Regions from separate parts of the Homo sapiens genome. Here regions 1, 2, 4, 5, 6 and 7 are each linked to region 3. The links are contacts of gene promoters, found by promoter capture Hi-C in blood cells and fetal thymus (Javierre and others, 2016). All regions are on one chromosome and are shown on one strand. Each heading gives the region's core, a stretch centred on a gene start or on the middle of the fragment in contact. The rest is flanking DNA. Distances are from core to core; before and after follow the strand shown. Region 1 holds the start of PRODH2 (proline dehydrogenase 2). Region 2 holds the start of KMT2B (lysine methyltransferase 2B). Region 3 holds the start of LINC01531 (long intergenic non-protein coding RNA 1531). Region 4 holds the start of ZNF30 (zinc finger protein 30). Region 5 holds the start of TYROBP (transmembrane immune signaling adaptor TYROBP). Region 6 holds the start of KIRREL2 (kirre like nephrin family adhesion molecule 2). Region 7 holds the start of SCN1B (sodium voltage-gated channel beta subunit 1).

The links. The method cuts DNA at HindIII sites, captures the fragments that hold promoters and counts their contacts. A CHiCAGO score of 5 or more calls a contact.
Region 1: the fragment with the promoter of PRODH2 here is called in contact with the fragment with the promoter of LINC01531 in region 3 in 9 of 17 cell types (neutrophils, M2 macrophages, total CD4 T cells and 6 more); the score reaches 8.1 in neutrophils.
Region 2: a contact is called between the fragment with the promoter of KMT2B here and the fragment with the promoter of LINC01531 in region 3, in 1 of 17 cell types (neutrophils). The highest score is 9.7, in neutrophils.
Region 4: the fragment with the promoter of ZNF30 here is called in contact with the fragment with the promoter of LINC01531 in region 3 in 9 of 17 cell types (total CD4 T cells, non-activated CD4 T cells, naive CD8 T cells and 6 more); the score reaches 14.9 in total CD4 T cells.
Region 5: the fragment with the promoter of TYROBP here is called in contact with the fragment with the promoter of LINC01531 in region 3 in 3 of 17 cell types (total B cells, endothelial precursors and monocytes); the score reaches 7.0 in total B cells.
Region 6: a contact is called between the fragment with the promoter of KIRREL2 here and the fragment with the promoter of LINC01531 in region 3, in 16 of 17 cell types (neutrophils, M2 macrophages, non-activated CD4 T cells and 13 more). The highest score is 20.6, in neutrophils.
Region 7: a contact is called between the fragment with the promoter of SCN1B here and the fragment with the promoter of LINC01531 in region 3, in 14 of 17 cell types (naive CD8 T cells, activated CD4 T cells, total B cells and 11 more). The highest score is 14.3, in naive CD8 T cells.

Annotation. Positions count from the first base shown.
Region 1 is chr19:35,811,329-35,814,612 of GRCh38, forward strand. It overlaps PRODH2 (proline dehydrogenase 2), which reads right to left and starts at 1,517. Exons shown (of 10, transcript NM_021232.2): 1 at 1,304-1,517; 2 at 1,032-1,228; 3 at 806-944; 4 at 634-720. The coding sequence starts at 1,477. The HindIII fragment of the contact is 7,636 bases long and covers 1-3,284 here.
Region 2 is chr19:35,716,561-35,719,880 of GRCh38, forward strand. KMT2B (lysine methyltransferase 2B) reads left to right here and starts at 1,443. Exons shown (of 37, transcript NM_014727.3): 1 at 1,443-1,821; 2 at 2,909-2,981; 3 at 3,224-3,320. The coding sequence starts at 1,459. ZBTB32 (zinc finger and BTB domain containing 32) reads left to right here. Exons shown (of 7, transcript NM_014383.3): 7 at 1-478. The coding sequence ends at 192. RefSeq lists enhancers at 1-555, 108-387, 1,675-2,232 and silencers at 958-1,437, 1,518-1,567, 1,588-1,657, 1,698-1,777, 1,828-1,877. The HindIII fragment of the contact is 14,363 bases long and covers 1-3,320 here.
Region 3 is chr19:35,403,791-35,406,921 of GRCh38, forward strand. It overlaps LINC01531 (long intergenic non-protein coding RNA 1531), which reads left to right and starts at 1,817. Exons shown (of 5, transcript NR_040046.1): 1 at 1,817-1,891; 2 at 2,795-3,131. The HindIII fragment of the contact is 14,783 bases long and covers 1-3,131 here.
Region 4 is chr19:34,925,157-34,928,505 of GRCh38, forward strand. ZNF30 (zinc finger protein 30) reads left to right here and starts at 1,747. Exons shown (of 5, transcript NM_194325.3): 1 at 1,747-2,060. ZNF30-AS1 (ZNF30 antisense RNA 1) reads right to left here and starts at 1,670. Exons shown (of 3, transcript NR_110749.1): 1 at 1,573-1,670. The HindIII fragment of the contact is 20,354 bases long and covers 1-3,349 here.
Region 5 is chr19:35,906,391-35,909,842 of GRCh38, forward strand. It overlaps TYROBP (transmembrane immune signaling adaptor TYROBP), which reads right to left and starts at 1,905. Exons shown (of 5, transcript NM_003332.4): 1 at 1,778-1,905; 2 at 1,340-1,372; 3 at 1,056-1,190; 4 at 828-874. The coding sequence starts at 1,838. RefSeq lists a silencer at 917-1,070 and enhancers at 2,882-3,011, 3,162-3,211, 3,312-3,421. The HindIII fragment of the contact is 5,164 bases long and covers 655-3,452 here.
Region 6 is chr19:35,855,068-35,858,552 of GRCh38, forward strand. It overlaps KIRREL2 (kirre like nephrin family adhesion molecule 2), which reads left to right and starts at 1,844. Exons shown (of 15, transcript NM_199180.4): 1 at 1,844-2,113; 2 at 2,278-2,427; 3 at 3,341-3,485. The coding sequence starts at 2,053. The HindIII fragment of the contact is 4,263 bases long and covers 1-3,485 here.
Region 7 is chr19:35,028,624-35,031,971 of GRCh38, forward strand. SCN1B (sodium voltage-gated channel beta subunit 1) reads left to right here and starts at 1,847. Exons shown (of 6, transcript NM_001037.5): 1 at 1,847-2,237. The coding sequence starts at 2,198. RefSeq lists silencers at 1,817-1,976, 2,316-2,424. The HindIII fragment of the contact is 5,241 bases long and covers 1-3,232 here.

The DNA of each region.
Region 1 (3,284 bases), core at 267-2,766, 410 kb after region 3:
GATTGCTTGAGGCCATGAGTTAGAGACCACCCTGTGCAATACAGTAAGACAAAGAGAAAGAGAGAGAGAGAGAGAGAGGAGGGAGGAGAGAGAAGGAAGGAAGGAAGGAATAAAGGAAGGAAGGAAGGAAGGGAGGGAGGGAGGGAGGGGAGAGAAGGAAAAAGAAAAGAAGGAAGGAAGGAGAGAGAGCAAAAGAGGAAGAGGAAGGAAGGAGAGAGAGAGAAAGAAAGAAAAAAAGATGGAGTAGGGTTGAAAGAGAATGTGGAGATAAAAAGGAATTAATGATTGAATGAACAAACTAAGACCCCATTGGCCTAATCAGAACTTACACCCAGCCAGCTCACACCCATGCAGCTGTGTTGACTGAGAACACACTGATGTACCTCCTTCTAATTGATAAACAGCTTCTATCCCAATCCCTCCTCTGAGAGCCTCCAGCCTCCAGGCTCCTCCCTGAGAACCCAGATGACCCTGATTCCATCCATTTCAACCATGCCTGGGAGCTACAGCTGCACTTCTGCTGGCTGTTCCAAGCCTGGAGGTGGCCGTAGCATTTTGAACATCTGGCGTGCGGTGTGGCCGCATCTAAGTCCAAGGCACTCTGTCCCCGACAGTCCCGCTTGAGATCCTTACCTGCCCAGAGTCCATAGCTTCAGCCAGCCTCTCGGGGCTCAGCTCCAAGGAGGCTCCTGGCCTTCTGACCCACGAGGCTAGCTCCTTCTGAAATGGGGTGGTAGGCGGGGTGGTGAGGGGAGCCCGATGGGCAGCCGCGCCCTCCCCGCACCCCCGTCTTTGCACTCCTTACACAGAGCCGAGTACTGGTCAGCGCCGTCACCTTCAGCTGCATGAGGCTGGCCTCAGCCAGGCTGGGGGGCTCCAGGAGGCCCCGTGACAGGTCCACACACCGCAGCATAGCACCGAGGTTCCCCTCATACCACGCCTCACTGCCCAGCCAGCAGGTGTCAGGGCCCGAACAGCAAAGCCCCTTCCTGCGTCCTCCCAGCCTCCCTGGGCCCTGGCTCCCTACTCACCCACTCTTGGCAGCAGAGTCCGGCTCCTCCTCAGTGGGCACTGCCAGCAGTGGTCGGAGGCTGAGGGTCCGCAGCTGCTGCACGCAGCCCTTCACCTCCTCTGCTGTCTCACCAGCCACAAACTGCCCATAGACGGATGCTCGGAGAAATGCGCCTGAGAGCCGGGAGCCCAGGAGTCGCCGAGACCAGGCCTGGAGCTGGGTGACAGGGAGCGAGGGCTCAGCGCCAGGCTATGAGGAGCCTCCAGGCTGGTCCTCAGGATCACTGCTCACCAACAGCCCGTGAGTGACGAGTGGGGGCCAGGCACACAGCCGGAGAACCAGCAAGGCCCGTGTCAGCTCTCCTGTGCCCTTAAGGTGGAAGGCCCCGCCATCAAAGCTCAGGGACTGCCAGCCCCTGGAGGGGGGACCAGCTTGGGAACAGAGCACGTAACAGGTCCGGAGCATCCTGGGTCCCTGGCTGCCTCCACACCAGGGAAGGTTCTCTGGAGGCAGCAAGTTCACCAACTGCCCCTTGCCCAGACCAGGGGCAGTGACTGATTAACTGGGCAAAGCCTCAGGATCACAGGCTCCTTGGGGGCAATTAATTATTAACAAATGGGGACAGAGTTCAGAGTAACGGAAACGGGAGGTGAACCCCAGTAACAGCCCCCAAGAATGCTCAGCACAACAGCCTGCACTTATTAGGTAACCACCATGTGCTGGGGAAAGCAGGGGCTCCGGAGCAAGGATCCCTGGGCTCAGGACACCGGGCTTTGTGATCCAGGACAGGCTACTTAATCACTTTTGTGGCAATTGCTTCCTCTTAAAATTGGAAACGCTGTAGTGTTATTGAATACATTTGAAAATACGGTTCTCACGTTTGTAATCCCAACACTTTGGGAGGCCAAGACCGAGGAGTTTGAGACTACCCTGGGCGACATAGTGAGACCCCATCTCTACAAAAAATACAAAAATTAACTGTGTGTGGTGGCACACACCTGTGGTCCTAGCTACTCAGGAGGCCGAGGAAGGTGGATCTCTTGAGCCTGGGAGGTCAAGGGTGCAGTGAGCTGTGATTGTGCCACTGCACTCCACCCTGGGTGACAAAGTGAGACTCTGTCGCCAAAAAAAGAAAAAAGAAAAGACAAATAACCTATATAACCCAGCTGTTCCATGCTAAGTACATATCCTAGAGACCTTAAACATGGACAGCAGGAAACATGTACAGGAAAGAATGTTCAGAGGAGCAGTGTCTGAACTACCCAAATGTCCATCAAAAGGAGAATGGATACATATATGGTGGTGTAGTTATGCAATGGAATACTATACAGTAATGAAAAAGAATGGATACTGATACACACAACTGTGTGGCTGAATCTCACAATGTCAAGTGAAAGAAGCCAGACACCAAACAGGGCAAGCTGTATTATTCTTTTTTTTTTTTTTTTTTTTTTTTTTTTGAGACACAGTTTCACTCTTGTTGCCCAGGCTAGAGTGCAATGGCACAATCTCAGCTCACTGCAACCTTCACCCCCCGGGTTCAAGCGATTCTCTTGCCTCAGCTTCCAGAGTAGCTGGGATTACAGGCATGTGCCACCACGCCCCACTAATTTTGTATTTTTAGTAGAGACAGGGTTTCTCCATGTTGGTCAGACTGGTCTTGAACTCCCGACCTCAGGTGATCTGCCCGCCTCAGCCTTCCAAAGTGCTGGGATTACAGGCATGAGCCACTGTGGCTGGTCTATACTTTTCAATAAATATAAAAGCAAGGAAAGTGAAACTGCAGTAAAATGTTGGGAATACATGCGTGGGTGGTCAAACTATGAGGACAAGAAAAGTAAGGACATGATTATCACAGAAGTCAGAGAGGTGGTTGATTGTGGGGGATGGGAGGAATTGTAATGGGGTAGAGGGATATGGGGACTTCTATATCCTATTTTCTTTTTTTAAAATGGAAACCATATGTCTTAATTTTTTTGTTTTGTTTTGTTAGACGTATCCTTGCTCTGTCACCCAGGCTGGAGTGCAGTGGTGCGATCTCGGCTCACTGCAACCCCCATCTCCCGGGTTCAAGTGATTCTTCTGCTTTAGCCCCCTGAGTAGCTGGGACTACAGGCACCCACCACCACACCTGGCTAATTTTTGTATTTTTGTAGATATGGGGTTTCACCATGTTGGCCAGGCTGGTCTTGAGCTCCTGACCTCAAGTGATCCACCCTACTTGTCCTCCCAACATGCTGGGATTACAGGCGTGAAGTCCTAGGTCTTTTTT
Region 2 (3,320 bases), core at 193-2,692, 310 kb after region 3:
GCCGCTCCGTACCGCTGCTCCCTGTGCGGGGCCGGCTGTCCCAGCCTGGCCTCCATGCAGGCGCACATGCGCGGTCACTCGCCCAGCCAACTCCCGCCCGGATGGACCATCCGCTCCACCTTCCTCTACTCCTCCTCGAGGCCGTCTCGGCCCTCGACCTCTCCCTGTTGTCCTTCTTCCTCCACCACCTGACGGGGTGTCGGTAGCGTCTTAGCCAAGAGTCCAATTAAAGAACGAAAAGCGGGCCGGCTCGGCTTCTGACCTGGCACCGCTGCTACGGCGGCCTAGCAAATTCCGCCCCAGAAGCGCCCCAGGAAGGGCGCCGAGTGCCCTCTCCTGGACGATCGCGGGTCGCAGAAGCCCAGGCCAGCGAGCCCTACAGAGTGAGGACACTGAAGTGTGCAGGAGCGAAGGTTAACAGTAGGGGAGATTGTCGATCTCATCACCATAATAAAGAGTTTCCTGTGCCCTCCCTTCAGGACTAGAAAGCCGAGTTTAGTCTGTGCACACCCCCGCCCACGCCCCTTGTCCTGTAGCGGCCCCTGGTGGCCCTGCGTCCGCTGTCCAGCGGGATGGACACTTCTTCCACCCCCGAGGCGCCCCGTCCTCCCCAGGAGGCAGCCGGCCCCGAGGACTCGGTGTCCGGGCACACCTTGCGGCATGCCGGTCCTGGACTGGTGGGGGCTGTGCGACCGCAAGTCACTCGCCCCTTCCACTGCAATCCACGGCGCGCGGAGTCTGATCTGGGAACGCTCGGCCCGGGAGAGAGAGGAACGCGTGCTCCGACCCTGCTTTCGGCCACCCGCCTCCTCTCCGGGAGCACACGGACCCCGAGACCGCGGCCTCTCCGGCGTCTTCCCTCCACACCGTGCCAAGCCGCCGCCAGGTCGCGCCTGGAACGGAGACTGACTATGCTTTCCACCGCTCCTTCTCCAGCCCACGCCTCCTGCAGCCGCGAACTGCATTTCCCAGGGCCTCGGGGGTCCCGGGGCCCGAGCCCGCGGCACCCTGGGAGTGGTAGTCCACGCGGGCCGCCGGCCTAGCCAAGAACAATGGGAGGAGCCTGGGGCTAGGACCACACCTCCCGGAGACCCGGCAACCCGCTTTCCGGGTCCTGGCCGGGAACCCCGCCGTCCCGGCCCTCGCGCCCTGGCTGCCGGCGGAAGAAGCGAGGCGTCCGGACTACATTTCCCGGAGGCCCCCGCGGTTCGCCCCTCTGCGGCCGCGACGCGGGGGTCTGTGCTCCCCAGGTGCGGTCCGAGGGCGCCGGCCGGCCGCGGACTCCCTCTCCCGTGGTGCCCTGCGCGTGGCCGGCCCGGCCCCCGGTCTCCCGCGGCGGCGCTGGTTGTTGTCGTGCGCCGCGGCCGCCCCGCCCCGCCCCCGCTCTCTCCCCTCCCCCCGGCCCTGCGCACGGGCCGCCCCTCCCCCCGCCTCCCCGGCCCCTCTCACGGTGCCAAGATGGCGGCGGCGGCGGGCGGCGGCAGTTGCCCCGGGCCTGGCTCCGCGCGGGGCCGCTTCCCGGGCCGGCCGCGGGGCGCCGGCGGGGGCGGGGGCCGCGGCGGACGGGGCAACGGGGCCGAAAGAGTGCGGGTAGCTCTGCGGCGCGGCGGTGGCGCGACGGGGCCGGGCGGAGCCGAGCCCGGGGAGGACACGGCCCTGCTCCGTTTGCTGGGGCTCCGCCGGGGCCTGCGCCGGCTCCGCCGCCTGTGGGCCGGCCCGCGGGTCCAGCGGGGCCGGGGACGGGGTCGGGGCCGGGGCTGGGGCCCGAGTCGAGGCTGCGTGCCGGAGGAGGAGAGCAGTGACGGGGAATCCGACGAGGAGGTGAGGCGGTTGGAGGCGTCCCCGGCGCCGGGTGGGGCGGAGGCCGGGGCTTCCAGGGGTCTGGGTTGTCCCGGGGGCGGCGTGGGCAGGCCGGGTCCTCAGGGTTCCTTCGGAGAGACGGGGCACGGAGGGAGGGCGGCTGCATGCAGCTTCCGGGGGAAAGGGCCTCTGGAAGTGGGTAGAGAAGCCCCGGCTGCAGCCAGGCACTCGCGCCCGATGTCGGTCCCGCTGAAGTGTCTTGGGCCGATCCTTTTCGGCAGCTGGCAAAGCTAGGGCGGTGGAGGTTTGGGCGAGGAGGCAGTGGGGACTGCATGTCCAGCCAGTCGTGGTTGACAGCGGCAGCGTGGCCTTGGCAGACAGGTTGGAGCTGTCTGGGCTCTTACCTGTGGGCCGCCCCGCCGGGCCTCGCAACCTCCTGGTTTCTCCAGGGCCCCAGTTTCTCTTGGCATCTCAGGTAGAGTGGTGGAGGGCTTCCTCTTGGGGCTCGGGTTGAACAGGAGTGGGATGAAGGCCGGGACTGGGCACTCTAGCAGGTCAGAGCTCAGCTCAGGATTTCTCCCCCAGCCTTTCAGAACAGGCAGGAAGGTGTGGGTTGCGTTGCCCTGGACGGTTAATAACAACCTGAGAGCTCGCAGTGGAGCCTGTACGAAAGCCATCTGATGCCCTCCCCGCCCCTTCACTTGCGGGCCCCTGTTCCCAACTTAATGCAGAAATAAATTGTGGCCCGAAAGGGTGTCAGTGGAGGTCCCACTTTGGTCTGAATTGGACTCTGAAGGAATCTGAGTATGGGGCCTGCTGCCTTTCCTGAGGAGACCCTGTCGTCTTCTCTCTTGGGCCAGTGAACCATGGCTTTGGCTGTGCTGGTGTGGTCCGGCACTGGGGATCGGAGTTCGAAATACCTGGCGCCTCCATCCCTAGGGAGAGACCCTCTCTTCCACTACCCGCGACCTTTGAGTCTTTTTCGTTCTTTTTAAATAGGCAGGGGTATGCTAAGTGGGAACTGGGGATATTCCTCGATACCTCAGATGGAACGAGGGCTTTGGCACTGACTGCTGTTTCTCCCCTCCACCCCGGTCCCCTAAATCAGGAGTTTCAGGGTTTTCATTCAGATGAAGATGTGGCCCCCAGTTCCCTGCGCTCTGCGCTCCGATCCCAGCGAGGTGAGTGACGGGGGAACTCCACCTCTTTAGCGTCACAGGAATTTATCCTCGCCCTTCGTGTCAGCTCTTCCCTGTTCAACTAGCCTCTGTCAGTTGCCGAATGTGTTCTGTGTTCAGAGTCCAAGCTAGTCTGGGCAGCGGGGGAAACACACAAGCAAGACTTAGTCCCTGCCCTCCTGGAGCGCCTTCCTCTGTGTGTAGGGCTGGCTTGATCCATCTCCCCACAACTATTCTCCTTTTAGGTCGAGCGCCCCGAGGTCGGGGTCGCAAGCATAAGACGACCCCCCTTCCTCCTCCTCGCCTAGCAGATGTGGCTCCTACCCCCCCAAAGACCCCTGC
Region 3 (3,131 bases), core at 567-3,066:
GGTTCCATGAGGTCAAAGGGAGAATTCAGGCCGGGCACAGTGGCTCACGCCTGTAATTCCAACACTTTGGGAGGCCAAGGTGGGTTGATCACCTGAGCTCAGGAGTTCGAGACCAGCCTGACCAATATGGTGAAACCTCATCTCTACTAAAAATACAAAAATTAGCCAGGTGTGGTGGTGAGTGCCTGTAATCCCAGCTACTCAGGAGGCTGAGTCAGGAGAATGGCGTGAACCCAGGAGAATGGAGGTTGCAGTGAGCCGAGATCGCCTCTGCACTCCAGCCTGGGCAACAGAGTGAGACTCTGTCTCAAAAAAAAAAAAAAAAGGAGAATTCAGACTAAGCTGTTTTGCAGCATCCCAAGGCTGTGTTGACCTCACGTACAGCTGCATCATGGGAGTGGGCGGTGCGACATCTCAAGTCCAACTCAACCGAGCCATGGTTCAGGCTAAGTTCCCGCTGGTGCCCCTACCTGGAACGCTCTTCAGATAGTGGCTCCTTCTCACCCATTCAAATGTCCCAGGCCTTTCCTGACAGGCCCTGCCCATCTCTCTCTCTCTCTCTCTCAATTTCCCTGCTTGCTTTTTGTTGTTGTTGTTGTTGTTGTTTGATTTTTGGTCCTTTTTTTTTTTTTTTTTTGAGGCAGAGTCTTCCTCTGTCGCCCAGGCTGGAGTGCAGTGGCATGATCTCGGCTGACTGCAATCTCTGCCTCCCAGGTTAAGGTGATTCTCCTGCCCCAGTCTCCTGAGTAGCTGGGATTACCAGTGCCCGCCACCATACCTGGCTAATTTTTGTATTTTTAGTAGAGACAGAGTTTCACCATGTTGGCCAGGCTGGTCTCAAACTCCTGACCTCAAGTGATGTGCCCGCCTCAGCTTCCCAAAGTGCTGGGGTTACAGGCATGAACCCCACCACGCCTAGCCGATTTATTTTCTTTCCCTTTTTTTTCCCCCAGACAGGACCACTGGATTGGAGTGGTGCCATCATAGTTCATTTTAATTTCCAACTCCTAGGCTCAAGTGATCCTCCCGCCTCAGCCTCCTGAGTATCTAGGACTACAGGTGTGCACCACCATGCCTGGCTAATTTTTTATTTTTATCCTTTTTTGTAGAGACAGGGGATCTCACTATGTTGCCCAGGCTGGTCTCAAACACCCAGCCTTAAGCAATCCTCCTCCTGCCTCAGCCTCCTAAGTAGCTGGGATTATAGGTGTGAGCCACCATGCCTGACTTTTTATCTCACTTTTTGTAGAGACGGGGTATCGCTATGTTGACCAGGCTGGTTTTGAACTCCTGGCCTCAAGCAGTCCTCCTGCCTGGGCCTCCCAAAGCGTTGAGATCACAGACGTGAGCCACCTTGCCTGGCCTACTTCCTTTCTTCCTGTAAAATTGCCTTGTTGGTTTGTCTACTTGTTTTCTGTTCATCCTGTTCACTCTTGTCTCCAGCTCCTAGAACAGTACCTCACACAGAGTAACGGCTCCATGTGTTTTGTGACAGGGAAGCAGACAGTGTGGCTTGTTGGAGAGGAGCCACATACCCCCGCCCCCCGATTCATACATGGTGTGACTCAGCCCGAACCATTGCTCAGTTGAGTTGGATTTGAGATGATGCACTGCCCACTCCCGTGATACAGCTGTGTGTGAGGTCAGCACAGTCTTGGGGTGCTGCCAGACAACTTAGTTTGAATTCTCCCTTTGACTCATTGGAACCTAGACCTCAGCACCAAAGATGTCCCCATACCAGTAACCCGGGCAACAGAATGCAGATAAAGGACAGGAGACAAAAGGCGCAGGTTCTGACACATTCTTTGCTTGTGTCATCAGCTAGCAAGTATTCACAGGCACATCCAACCTCCATCCTTACATTCCACAAGGATTTGAGTGTCTGTTATAGGCAAGGGACAATGCTAGGTTTTTTTTTCTAAAAACAAACTTGGGGCTGGGCATGGTGGCTCACACTTGTAATCCTAGCACTTTGGGAGGCCAAAGCGGGTGGACTGCCTGAGCTCAAGAGTTCGACAACTCTTGGTAACATGGTGAAACCCCGTCTCTGCCAAAAATACAAAAAATTAGCCAGATGCAGTGGCGTGCACCTGTGGCCCAGCTTCTCGGGAGGCTGAGGTGTGAGGATCACTTGAGCCCGAAAGGTGAAGGCTGCAGTGGGCCGCGATTGCACCACTGAACTCTAGCCTGGGCAACAGAGTGGGACCCTGTCTCAAAACAACAACAACAAAATAAGAAAGAAAGAAAGAAAAAGCGGAAGTGAGAGATGGATGTGCGTGTAGTCGTGTGGGATAATTGCCCATGGGAAGGAAACAGAATTCAACCTCTTGGAATGTAGGGGGAGGAGGAAGCCTGAAAAAACTGTTCAAATTTGGATTCTGGGCTGAGCACAGTGGCTCACGCCTGTAATCCCAGCACTTTGGGAGGCAAGGCAGGCGGATCACTTGAGGTTCGGAGTTCGAGACTAGCCTGGCCAACATGGTGAAACCCTGTCTACAAAAAATACAAAAATTAGTCGGGCGTGGTGTTGCACACCTGTAATCCCACTACTTGGAAGGCTGGGGTAGGAGAATCACTTGAACTAGGGAGGCAGAGGTTGCAGTGAGCTGAGATCGCACCACTAAACTCCAGCCTGGGTGATAGAGCAAGACTCTGCCTCAAAAAAAAAAAAATTGGACTCTGGGTGAAATAAGTCTGTTGGGGACAAAATCTGGTGGGAGACCCAGAAGGTCAAGCTGCTTTAGAAAGAGCTCAACCACTGACTTTCCTCTTTTTGACCACATGACTCTTCCAGGTATAAAAGCCTGCCGTTGGTGGAAAAGGAAAAGGTGGTCCAGTTAGACAAGATGCCACCGGCTTCTGAAACCAGACATCTTTGAAAACCCACCCATCTACCTGCAGGAAAAGGCAAGGGACCTGACCTCGCCTGGGCTCAGGGAAGAGGTTGCTGGGATCATAACCCCAGGAAGAGACGGGATGGAAGGAGAGCATGCAGGGAGCAGAGGACAGGCTACTCTCCAAGGAGGAGAGGGAAGAGGCCACAGAAATGGAAAAGGGGCCAGGACAAGTCAGTGGAGAGATGGTCAGGGCCTGGCGAGGAGGAGCAGGACAAAAGCGGTGGAGCTCAGCCC
Region 4 (3,349 bases), core at 497-2,996, 480 kb before region 3:
GTTTATAGCTGAAGCCCCAGTGGGCGTGTTACAGGATGCTCTTTAGCTGTCCGCAGGCGGCTTATGTTAGTCAATTCAATTAGATCCCTGCGTTATCGCAAGGACAGAGGGCTTTCATATCCCGGGGTTCCTGTCTTGGTGTACCAGAAGAATCAGATCACACATGGGCTTGGAGGATGACTGCAGGGTTTTGAGTGGAAGTAGCTCTCAACAGTTGGGGGAGCCAGAAGGGAAATGGTTTTCCCCTGGAATCGGGCTGCTCCGCAGCACCGGCTCTCCTTGGACTGCCCCAGCCAAACTCCGCGTCCTTCTGGTGGGTGGCCTGCCCGCGTGCCAGCGTCTGTCATGTCTTCTTCCGCCAACATGTTCCTCTGGATGTCCAGCGGCTTGTGTGTCTGCTTGCTAGGGTCTCAGAGTATTTATAGGGACAGGATGGGGGCGGGAACAGGATGGGGGCGTGGCAGGCCAGGGTGGTCTTGGGAAACGCAACATTTGGGCAGGAAAACAAAAATGCCTGCCCTCACCTAGGTCAGTTGGCACAGGGCCAGGGGTGGAGCCCTAGCCAGGGACCACACCCTCCTGTACCCAGCACCTCCCTTTCCCCCTTCCATATCATTTAAAGGGACCCCGCCCTTCCCTCCCCAGCACTCCCCTTCCCCACCTCCTTATCAATGTCATCACCCTGGACTGACTCCAGGAATCACTGTAATGTGGGCTTAATAAGAACAGAGCTCGGCTGGCCGCGGTGGCTCACCCTGTCATCCCAGCACTTTGGGAGGCTGAGGCGGGTGGATCGCTTGAGCCCAGGAGTTCGAGACTAGCCTGGGCAAGATGGCAAAACCCCATTTCTACAAAAAATATACAAAAATTAGCCAGGTGTAGTGGCGCGCCCCTGTAGTCTCAGCTACTCTGGAGGCCGAGGTGGGAGAATCACTTGAACCTGGGAGGCAGAGGTTACAGTAAGCCGAGATAGCGCCACTGCATTCCAGTCTGAGCGACAGAGGGAGACCCTGTCTCAAAACAAAACAAAAACAAAACAAACAAAAAGCGGAGCTGACAGTCAAGGTGAATTTCACGTTTGCCTGTATTCAGTTTTAGCATTACATAAACCAAAAGAAGAATGCCATAAAGGCTACAGGCAGCTAATACAGAGAGGTGTTACTGGAAAAGGAACCAGAAAGAGTAAATATCTCCTAAACGTATGATGGGACAGAAAGATAAATGCCTATTACATATAGTTAATATCTGTTTGATTAGCCTTATTTACATTCTCCTTTTAAAAGGTCTTACATTTAGCATCTTAGATAGAACCCACAAAATTTAAATATTTAATAGAAACTTAAAATTCCTGTATCAGAGGACAGAAATATATTTTTCTCACACGTGATTAGTCTAATTGCCACTATTAATCCTATTAATATTCTGTTAAATAATAGCATTTCTGTAGCGAAAAGCAAACAGTACGGAAAGATAATTTCAAACACCTAGTTTTCATATTTTTGTGTTAAAGTAATAACATATTTTGGTATAGATTATCATTTTTTGTTTGTTTTTGTTTTTGCTTTTTCTGACCTGGTGTGTTAATGCCCTGGGTTGGCCCTCTAAGAAGCTGGCCACCTACTTCGGGCCTCAGGTGTCAGACGCCCCAGCTTCGAGGTCTATGGCTCCCAGCAACTCGAGCGCCTGCGCCTGCGCATTCTCAGCCGGACGGGAGCGCCCAGAAGTCTCCGGGCGCCGGTGGGCGGCCTTGTGGACTGCGCCGGGCATGCTCGGCGGTGTGACGGCTCAGGACTGCATTTCCCAGAGGCTGCAGCTATCCGGCCAATGTAGCCTGAAACTACATTTCTCAGCGGCCACTGGAACGACCTCAATCTCTGCCTCCTCGCCAGTTCATTGTGGTCGTTGACCCGGCAGCGAGCTTTGGAGTTCATCGAGGGAGAAGTCAGCGCCCAGCTCCGAGGTTGGAGCAGCCCCGCCGGGCAACTTGAATTTCTGCAAACGAACACAGCACCGGGAGCTCTGCAGACCTGTGTCGGCGCGGAACCCGGACTGAGACATGCGTGAGCGTTGGGTGGACCGGGCGAGGATCCCGGGCCGGCGAGTGCGGGAGCGGCAGGGCAGGGAGGGTGCGTCGGCCGGGGCCGGTGTGCATCCGCGAAGACTGGGTGCATGGCCTCCATGCGAACCTGAGCTATTAATATTTGTTACTATTTTGGATAAAATCACTGTAATTGATTTATGTAAAGGAGCAAAAGACTCTTCAACTCTCAGTTTAAAAAGGAAACGATAGTTATGATACCTTTTGCATGCAGCGGGAAGAAATGGGATTGCCAGGAAGCCTCTTCTTGTTTGGAAAAAACTGTATAAAGTATTTACACCTTTTAAAGATGAGAGCAATGTCATCTGAAAATTATCAGTGCAGGGAAAAGGACTTCAAAGGATCTGTTGTGCAGATTACTTAACTAATGACAAAATTATGTAAGAAAGGAGAGCAAGATGACAGCTGTAAACATTTCCATCAATCTCCATATTGCACAGAAATAGGACCCAGCTTTTTCTTAAGGTTCTTCAATTTTGCATTATCCCACAGCAGTAGCTCTCTCTCTCTAGCTGCTAGGGGACAGAGGAAATTGAAATGTCAGAGAATCTTTTCTGTTGGTTTTTTATTTGTTTGTTTTTAAAGAAGAGTTGCTCTTAATTTTTTAGTTAGAATTAAAAGAAAGCATGCCAGAGAAACTTACGTTTTAAGTAAAAAGTGGAAACAGGTCGGGTGCCATGGCTCATGCCTGTAATCCCAGCACTTTGGGAAGCTGAGGCGGGTGGATTGCCTGAGCTCAGGAGTTCGAGACCACCAACATGGCAACATGGTGAAACCCCGTCTCTACTAAAAATATAAAAATTAGCCAGGCATGGTGGCGTGCGCTTGTAGTCACAGCTACTTGAGAGGCGGAGGTGGGAGAAGTGCTTGAAGCTGGGAGGCGGCGGAGGTTGCAGTGAGTGGAGATGGCACCACCGCAATCCAGCCTGGGCGACAGAGCGAGATCCCTTCTCTAAAAAAAAAAAAATATATATATATATATATATATATATATATATATAGATAGATAGATAGATAGATACATAAATTAAATTAAGTGGAAACAAGTGTTTAATTAAAATGAAATAAAGGATGTATAATGTTTACGTAATAACTCCAATGCAGTAGTGCCCCCTTAATCGGCAGTTTCACTTTCTTCACTTTGTTACCCTCAGTCAACCATGATCTGAAAATAGGTGATTTTGGTACAATAAGATATTTTGAGAGAGAGGGGCCATGTTCACATAACTTTTATTACAGTATGCTATTATA
Region 5 (3,452 bases), core at 655-3,154, 500 kb after region 3:
AAAAAAATTTTTTTTAATTATAAAGAACATTTACACTGCTCTCAGATTATATGCACAATTTTGTATTTTTTGTGTAGATTTTTCTGGGAGTCTAGATTTTCTTAGTTTCTCAAAGGGATGAAGGGTCCTCAAACCCAAAAAAGAGATTCTAGGACTCCTCTCTTTAGAGTTACCAAGGTAGGGCTGAATGACATTCTCTGCCCTACTGAGAGCGTCTCCCAGAAATCAGTCGTCCTAGGGCTGGGTTTCTTCCAGAAAATTCCTGGCCTGACTTCTGGCAAGGCCTGTGTTTACACTTACAAAGGCAAAGCCACCCTTTTTTTTTTCTTTTTAACTCTTCACGCTTTTTTTTTTTTGACAGAGTTTTCCTCTTGTTGCCCAGGCTGGAGTGCAATTGCGTGATCTTGGCTCACTGCAACCTCCGCCTCCTGGGTCAAAGGATTCTCCTGCCTCAGCCTCCCAAGTAGCTGGGATTACAGGCATGCGTTACCACGCCCAGCTAATTTTGTATTTTTAGTAGAGACAGGGTTTCACCATGTTGGTCTCGAACTCCTGACCTCAAGTGATCCACCCGCCTCTGTCTCCCAAAGTGCTGGGATTACAGGTTTGAGTCACCGTGCCCAGCCCCTCTTCACACATTTTAAGCTGACCATAAGCTTGTGGTTGATCATTCGGCCCAGTTTTGGACAGATGTCCCATGTGCCTTCAAGGTTTGGGGGTGCTTTAGGCAGAGTGGCTTTGAGGTCCCTCTGATGGCATGAAGGAGTATCTGGGGCAGATATCCCTGGCAGGAGTGAAATGTGAGGAGGACAGTCTGGTTTTCTCACCTGATAAGGCGACTCGGTCTCAGTGATACGCTGTTTCCGGGTCGCTGCTGGAGGTGAGGGGTGTTGTGGGGTGCAGAGACAGGCAGAGTGGTGAGTTGAGGGTGTTTTGTCATTCCAAATCAGCACCTCCATTACCATCCCTTTGGATGTTTGAGATCTGGGAGTTTACCCAGCCCCCCACCCCCATCTAGGCAAGTCCTCAGGATGTCCCCTGCTAGCCCCACTCACCCTCCGCAGCCCCTCGCCCCCGAGGGACCAGCCGGCCCAGGAAGTACACGGCCAGGGCAATGAGCACTGTCAGCACCAGGTCTCCCATCACGATCCCTGCCAGCACGCCCGGGCTCACCGTAGAGCAACTGCAATCTGCAGCACAGGGGTCAGGGGAGGTCAGTGTGTGCTGGGAACTGTGGGGAGGGGGGTCAGCGGCAGGGAGGTTTGGAAAGGGTGTGGGAGAGACGGAGACAGGGAGGTCTCTGGGAGGTAGAGAGAGGGACTGCTGGGTCTAGGCCTACCGCTCTGGGCCTGGGCCTGGACAGGACGGAGACCTGAGGAGGAAAAAGAAGGTAAACTGAGGCACAGAGTTATGACGGGGGTGGGGGAGGCAAGTTTAGAAGCCAGGGAAGGTGGATCCTGACAGCCAAGAGGTTAGCAAGGGGGAGAGCGTGTCTGGCGGGACTCAGGGGGCTGGCGTCTGGGCCACCGGACTATGTGCGTTACTTCTGCACAACTTGTCCTGTGGCAACACACTTAGATGTCTCTTCTCCCCTGCTTGTAGCGGACGACAAAACTTGGGGGCTTGGGCTCTGGGAGAAACCCACAGGCTTTGGGAGGTTGGGGACCTGCTCCCATCCCAACACCCACTTTTGGTTCTCTCGTTCCACCCCACTCCCTGCCCTGCCCCAAGCTGAGCCCAGGGACCCGGGAGGCAGCCACGGAAGCCCCTAACTCACCACTTACAGCCAGCAGGAGAGGCAGGAGCAGGAGCCTGCTGCAGGGTTCAAGTCCCCCCATGAAGCCGGATGCTGCTGGACACCACAGTGTAAGGGCCGGTGGGATGTGGCGCAGCGTCCAGGCAAGTGAAGGAGGAAGTCTGAGGCGGGTGGTGGCAGAAGGGAGGAGGAGACAGGGGAGGAGAGACAGAAACAAAACCCAAGAAAGAATCAGGCCCAGACACCCAGGGGCCATGCCACAGGCCCCCAGCAACTAGACGTGAAGGGCAAAGGGTACGTGAAGCACAAACTTCACCTCCGTCCCCAGTCAGGGGTCAGACATCGTTTTAACAGGAGGGTCAGTGTCATGACCTTCCTCTGGCTGATTGAAACCAGCTCTGCCTCTTCCTGGCTGGTCAACCTTGAGTGCAATGGCACGGTCTCGGCTCACTGCAACCTCTGCCTCCCGGGTTCAAGTGATTCTCCTGCCTCAGCCTCCCAAGTAGCTGGGATTATAGGCGCCTGCCACCATGCCCGGCTAATTTTTTGTATTTTTTTTTCTTTTTTTTTTAGTAGAGACAGGGTTTCACCATGTTGGCCAGCTGGTCTCAAACTCCTGACCTCAGGTGATCCACCCACCTTGGCCTCCCGAAGTGCTAGGATTGCAAGTGTGAGCCACCGCACCCAGCTCCAACCTCAGTTTCTTCATCTGTAAAATTGGGAGTAAAATGGGACCTACTTTTTAGAGTTGTGGGGATTAAATGAATTAAAGTTCCTAGACCAGGGTCTGACCCTTGTCAGCTTTTTAAAAGCATCAGCTATGATGATGATTATTTAATCATCAGAAACTTGTGCTGTTTAAAGGATATTAAAAGAGCCAGCAGCATGTGGGCACTAATGACATGCAGGCACTCTGTCCCAAGCGTTAAATCATTCAGTCCCCGCAATGCCCTTCTAGGGCACATGCTCTTATCATCCCCATTGTTCAGAGAGGTAGAGACGCTTGCCTAAGGCTGCACAGCAAATCAAGGTGGAAATGGAACCCAAGACCCAAAATCAGGTTTTTGACTAGGGAAGAGTCAGGGGGAAAAACAAAGATGAAAGATGGGGAAGGAGAAAACAGCGGCAAAGCTGAGAAAGGTGAGAGTAAGGCAGTGGCACAGACACAGAGGCACGGCTGGCGGCTTGGGGAGAGGCAGGTGGCTGGCTCTCCTGCTGAATGAGGAAGTGGCTGGGAGCAAGGCCCAAGGGAGGCCACCCCAAGGAGACGGGGACTTCTAGCCCCCAGCTGGAGCCTGGGGCTGGGGAAGGAGGAACCTGAGGTTAGGGTGCTGGAGGATGAGACAGCTGCAGGAAGCCCCCCTCCCCCATCCACACGTCACACCCACCGCTCCTTGGGCCTGGGCTTAGGAGAAAAAAGGGGAAACTGGATTCTGGTCACAGGGCAGATGCCCAGTGGCCTGTGGGGGAAGGGAGGAGAGGAGATTTGGAGCCTGGAGGAGGGTCAGGTCCCAGCTCAGCCCACGGTCACCACTGTTCAGGCCTGGCTGAGTCCCCTCCCTTAAAAACCCAAGCCTCTCCCATTGTGTCTAGAGCGAGCATGGAGGGAACAGACCCTGTAGGTCCTCCCGGGCACACCAGGCCACCCAATGTGTTGGAGCAGAGTGGGCGAGGGGGCAGTCAGAGACCAGAGCAG
Region 6 (3,485 bases), core at 594-3,093, 450 kb after region 3:
TGAGGCATCTGGCCTCAGCCCCCAGCTTCATCCTCGATGCTGGACTTCCATCTTCCCTCACATGCTTGACTCCTTGCCCTCCTCCCACCTCCCCTCTCCCAACTGCTCTCTACACCCCCTGGGAAATGGGCTGGATGCCGAGCTGGGGGAGTGGCTCTGTCCTGGGGGCCCTCGCCAGATGGTGTCCCTAGGTGCCAGAGCGTGGAGCTGTCCCTTGCTGGGGCCTTTAATAAGCACAAACCTTCCACCCTCCACCTTGGCTGTTTTCCTTCTCTGCATGCTCCTGGGACCTTGGGCTCTCCATCTTTCCATGTCCGTAGCCCCAGAGAGCCAGGAAGGGGAAGCGGCGTCAAGTGCCTGGAAAAACAGCCCCATGACTTGAGTTCCTCCCTAAGACTCAGGAGTTCCAGCCCCATGTCCATCCTATTTCAAAATCCAGGCACTAGATAAGCCACACAGAAGCCGGGAGTGTAGGCCCCCAGATCCCTCCCCTCTCAGACCCTGGGGTCTCAGTCCCTTCTCTCCAAGGACTCGGGAATTTGGGCCTCTGATCCTCCTGGCCACACTACCCACCCCCGCACCTCCCCATACACACACACACACACACACACACACACACACACACACACACACACACACATACACACAGGACTTAGGACAGATGTTCACGGTCTGATTTCCAAATCCTCCTGGGCCTGTGTGGGGGTGGGGAGAGATTGGCAGATAGATCCACCGACTCTTAAGACTTAAGACCAGATATTCTGACCCCTGTCACCCTCTTCCAAGTGCACCATGCACTTGAGTGCACCTTGAGTCTCCAGCCTCTCAAGGAACCGGGAGATCAGGCCATCAGCGTCTCAGCCAGCAAAGGCCTGAACCACCAGTCCCTTATAACCCTGTAAGTCCAACCCCCACTCCCAACCCCACTCCCCCATTTAGGGACACGGAGTCTGAGCCTAAGAACAGTGGAGAATCTGAATGTGGACCCTCCAGTTCTTACAGGTCCAGGAATGTCAGATCAGGGTCCCAGCCCCCCAGCCCTCCTTCAGGCTGCTCGGGGTCCCTCCCACCTGCTCGGCCAGCTGCGCAGCGTGGGAACGCCCCAGCTGGGCTGCATGGAGCCGTCAGGACAAGCTGCGCGGTTCCCAGCCTCCCTGCCTGCCCCGGCCCGGCACCGCCGCCTCCCAGCCGTCGCCGGGCAACCAGGCCGAGGGGCCCGGCCGGCCGAGTGGGGAGAGGGGTTGGGCTGGGACTGCGGGGTCCTGGGAAAGGAGGGGCCGAGGGCCTGGATTCCTGGGTCTTAGGACGTGCTGTAGTTTGCAGCAATAACAAGGGAACAGAGGGATATTTTGAGGAGGGGTTTTGAGGCTGGGGGAGTCGAGGTAGGGGTCCCAACTGTCCCCCAGGTATCGGTGTGCCCTCTTCCCGACACGCAGGCCCGGGGGAGCCCCGGACCCCGCATCCCCCAGGGCGCGGAAACTGGCGAGGCCCCAGGAGCTCCCATTTATAGCTCAGTTTCCACTGAGCGCAGTCCCTCTAGGACCTGGGCTGAGCAAGTTTCTTCCACTCTCTCCCTTCCCTCCTCCTCACCCCTTGCCTGCCCCTCAACCCCGGCAGGGCGCAGGTGTCCAACCCAGCCGGGACCCCCTCCCTCCTCGAACCCAGGTGTTCCGGCTCCCAGACCCCAATTGAGCTGGGGGCGCCCACCCGCCGGGGGATCCCGCCCTGCGTCCCCCATTCATCCGCGTCTCAGCCGCGGGAGTTTCTCAACGGGAAGAGGGCGGAGCTCCCGGGGGGCGGACCCGGGCGGGGCGAGCGGGATCGGGCCCTCTTGGGGTCTCCCAGAGACCCAGGCCGCGGAACTGGCAGGCGTTTCAGAGCGTCAGAGGCTGCGGATGAGCAGACTTGGAGGACTCCAGGCCAGAGACTAGGCTGGGCGAAGAGTCGAGCGTGAAGGGGGCTCCGGGCCAGGGTGACAGGAGGCGTGCTTGAGAGGAAGAAGTTGACGGGAAGGCCAGTGCGACGGCAAATCTCGTGAACCTTGGGGGACGAATGCTCAGGATGCGGGTCCCCGCCCTCCTCGTCCTCCTCTTCTGCTTCAGAGGGAGAGCAGGTACCGCACGAGGGGAGCGGAGGAATATGGGGTGGGGGTGGGGAGTTGCTTGCGGGCTGCCTCTTCACTAGCGAGAAGGGAGCTGGGGGCTGGGACTCCTGGGTCCTGAATGAGGAGGCCCCTGAAGGTGCTAAGCTCAGCCCTGCTGCCCCGAACTCTCCTAGGCCCGTCGCCCCATTTCCTGCAACAGCCAGAGGACCTGGTGGTGCTGCTGGGGGAGGAAGCCCGGCTGCCGTGTGCTCTGGGCGCCTACTGGGGGCTAGTTCAGTGGACTAAGAGTGGGCTGGCCCTAGGGGGCCAAAGGGACCTACCAGGTAAGAGTGTTCTCTCCACGCTGGGACGGGCTGGCTAGGGGGAGAGTTGCTGGGCTCGGCTGTACCTGCAGTTTCTATTTTGACATTTTCAAGTTTGGGAAATTGATGGGCTCGGGTAAACATTTAGGAGTCCTGATTTTTGAGCTGCTTCTTTGGGGGTGACCCACGGAGTTTGGGAATTATTATGTTATTGCAAAATAGTACATAGGCCAGGTGCAGTGGCTCACGCCTGTAATCCCAACGCTTTGGGAGGTTGAGGCCAGAGGATCGCTTGAAACCAGGAGTTTGAGACCAGCCTGGGCAACATAACAAGACCTTATCTCTACACAAATGTATATATATATTTTAAACAAATTAGCCGGGTATGGTGGTGTGCATCTATAGTCCCAGTTACTCAGGAGGCTTAGGTGGTAGGATTGCTTGAGCCTAGGAGTTCAAGGCTGCAGTGAGCCATGATCAAGCCACTGCACTTCAGGCAATGGTGAGACCCTGTCTCAAAAAAAAAAAAAAAAGAGAACATAAATGCAAAAAAGTACAGTAAATATAAATGGAAGATTTACCAAATAAAATAGACACACACAGCCAATACCCAAGTCCATTGCTAGCTCCCCAGAAGACCCCGTGTTCCTTTCCCCTATCATAGCCCCCTCCCCCTCACTCCAGAAGTAGTATCTAACCTAATTTTTATGGCAATCATTTTCTTGCTTTCCTTCCTGACTTTATTACCCCTAAGTTTGCAGTGACTCTGGGTTGGGAGGGAGTTAGAGTCTCTCTGGGCCCAGTACACACTTTTTAATAGTGTCTTACCACCAAATGTGTGGGCCAGTTTTCTGGTGGAGGATGTCTGGGGATGGAGGCCTGAGGCCAGGATTTCAGAACCATGGTGTGCTGACTGCCTTCTCCCTGACTCCAGGGTGGTCCCGGTACTGGATATCAGGGAATGCAGCCAATGGCCAGCATGACCTCCACATTAGGCCCGTGGAGCTAGAGGATGAAGCATCATATGAATGTCAGGCTACACAAGCAGGCCTCCGCTCCAGACCAGCCCAACTGCACGT
Region 7 (3,348 bases), core at 597-3,096, 380 kb before region 3:
CAAGGACTTAGTGAACATTGGCATTCATTTATTTGTTTGACAAATATTGATTGAGTACCTACAATGTGCCAGGAACAGTTCAAGGTGCAAGAGACACAAGACAATATCCTCACCTGGGAGATTTTTTTTTTTTTTTTTTTTTTTTTTTTTTACATGGAGTCTCACTCTGTCACCAGGCTGGAGTGCAGTGGTGTGATCTCGGCTCATTGCCACCTCTGCCTCCCGGGTTCAAGCGATTCTCCTGCCTCAGCCTCCTGAGTAGCTGGGACTACAGGCATGTGCCCCCACGCCCAGCTAATTTTTGTATTTTTAGTAGAGATGGGGTTTCACCATGTTGGCCAGGATGGTCTCGATCTCTTGACCTCGTGATCCGCCCACCTCGGCCTCCCAGAATGCTGGAATTACAAGCGTGAGCCACTGCGCCCGGCCTTTTTTTTTGAGACGGAGTTTCGCTCTTGTTGCCCAGGCTGGAGTGCAGTGATGCGATCTTGGCTCACTGCAACCTCTGCCTCCCGGGTTCAAGCGATTCTTCCTCAGCCTCCCAAGTAACTGGGATTACAGGTGCCCACCACCACTCCCAGCTAATTTTTTTTGTATTGTTAGTAGAGACGGGGTTTCACCATGCTCGTCAGGCTGGTCTCGAACTCCTGTCCTCAGGTGATCTGCCCCCCTTGGCCTCCCAAAGTGCTGGGATAGCGGGGGGCGGCTCACATCTGTAATCCCAGCATGGTCAACATGGTGAAACCCTGTCTCTACTAAAAAATAAAAAAATTAGCCAGGCATGATGGTGCACACCTGTACTCCCAGCTACTTGGGAGGTTGCGGCAGGATAATCGCTTGAACCCGGGAGGCGGAGGTTGCAGTGAGACGAGATCAGCCACTGCACTCCAGCCTGGGCAACAGAGCCAGACCCTATCTCAAAAAAAAAAAAAAAAAAAAAAAAAAAAAAAGAACATAATGTCAGGTAGTGAGGCTGCTGTGGAAAACACTCAACAAGAGGTAAAGAGTAAAGGAGGTCAGGTTAGGAGCGGGGAAGGCAGTTTACCCTGAAGGGACACAGAAGACCTGACGAAGGTGACATTGGAGCCATGGAGGCCCACGGAGAGGGGCGGGGCAGGGGGGGAGAGCCGGGGCAGAGGGGAGAGCTGGGGCCAAGGCCCTGAGGCAGGAACGGGTTCCCTGTGTTGGGAACAGCAGGAGGGCCTGAACAGCCAGAGTGGAGTGGGAGGAAAGAGGGGTAGAAGGTGACATCAGGGACATAAATGGGTGCAGGGGATCACGAAGGGGTCCTCCTCCTGAAACAGCACCTCCAGATTCCCGGGGCTGCTTCTCTCCAGGGTGCCCCGCCTGCTTGGGTGAGGTCCGGATTGTAGCTGTAGTCCTAGCCTGACGGCCCCCCACCCTCCTCTAATGCCTACTTGGGGTCCCTGCACATTGACCCCCAGGCCTGGATATCAGGGCTCAGGGGAGATAACTTGGAGGTTCGCCCTCTGGAACTCCTGAGGATGACCTCCATCATTTGAAGTCGGAAACCCGGCCCCCAAACTGCGCTCTAAGTCCTCCTGTGACTCTGGGGGTGACCTTTCCAGACTCCCTGGGAAGGTGGGGGGGGGGGGGTGGTCCTCAGAGCCCCAGCGGGGTCGGAGACACACAGACCACCCTCCCCGTTCCCAGAAGTCGCGGTCCCTGCGCCACCCGGAGAGGCCGGTGCAGCGGGCGCCTCCCGGGCCGCTGCGGCAAAGGCTGGGCGGCCGCGCCTTCCCCCCGCGGTGATTCATCCCGCCCCCTCCCTCTCCTCCCTCGTCCCTCCCTAGGCCGCCGCCGCCGCCGCCGCCGCCGCCGCTGCAGTGCGCAGGAGACCGCGGTCCGCGCCCGAGCGCGCCCGAGCCGGAGCGGGACCGGGGTCGGTGCACCTAGCGGATGTGCCCGGCTGCGCGCGCCAGCGCAGCAGCCCGAGCAGCGGCCGCCGCCCGCGCGGCGGGGATGCCCGGACGCCGGGCCCCGGGGCTGGGCCCCCGGCGGTAACCGGAGCGGGGGGGCCGCGCCCCCCCTCCTCCCCCCTCGCCGGTCCCAGAGCCGCAGCTGCTGCGCCCGCGCGCTCCCGGGGACATTCTAACCGCCGCCAGGTCCCGCCGCCTCTCGCCCCGCTATTAATACCGGCGGCCCGGGAGGGGGGCGCAGCACGCGCCGCGCAGCCATGGGGAGGCTGCTGGCCTTAGTGGTCGGCGCGGCACTGGGTGAGTGCGCGGGGGGCGCGCGCGGCCGGGGGGCACCGCGGGGGCACTGGCGGGGCGGCGGGAGTGGCGCTCGGGACACGGGGCAGCCGCGCGAGGGCCACCCCCGGCCCATCCCCGGGCCCCGCCAAGTCAGCTTCAGAAGTTGTGCGCGCGGGAGCCGGGCTTGGGGAGGGCAGTGGAGGTGAGGGTGGGCTCCAGCGGGTGGGGGCCGGGCTGGCACAGCCTGGCGGCTGCAGGCGCCCAGCCGGGGGCGAGGAAACGCGGAGTCAGCTGCTCCCGGAGCCCCGCAGGCTGCAATGTGACACCCACAGCCGCGGGAGGGGGGTGGGGGGAAGGCGGCGCCCGGAGACTGGGACGGGAAAGACGGAGGGACAGGGAGAGATGAAGACGGGAGGAAGGGGGCGAGAGACAGAGAAGGACTCGGAGCGCACCGGAGTGGTCCGCTGGGATGCTGGGGACATGGGGGTCAAGGGGGAGACGGAGACAGAGAGAGGGGTATTGGAGAGAGAGAGAGAGAGAGAGAGTTAAGAGACTGAGCGCGATGGAGAAAGGGAAACTTGAGAAAGGCAGAAGGAGATGGAGAGAAGAGAGAGGGAGATGCGGGTGCCCGTGAACACCGGGAGAGAATCTTGCATGGAGTTTGAAAAGGGATAGACGTAGAAAGGTGGAAAGAGATTAGGAGAGGTCTCCTTCTGAGCCCAGAGAGTGGACAAAAAGTGGAGGGACCTTCAGAGAGACCCCTGAGAGGGACAAAGATAGGAGGGACTGAGACAGAGGCCCTCAGGGAGTCTGAAAGGGACCGCAGGGGAGGCGGATGGATGAGAAGTCCTGAGGATCAGGAAACAAGGACAGCACAGGGCTGCAGCAGAAGAGACACAGCGTTAGCTACAGAGTGCTGGGAGGCAGAAAGGAGGTGCCAGGTAAGAGTGTGAAGGAATTCTAAGACTGGAATTCAGTGGGCTGCAAAAGCCCTGGGGCAGGAGAGAGCTCAGGAAAGCTTTGAGTAGTGGATGGGGTTGGGGTGGGAAGAGCTCTAGAGGCGAGGAGCCTGGGGAAGAGGGGATGATGGAGGCAGGAGAGGCCGGGGAGGGGATGGCTCACACAGGGGCTT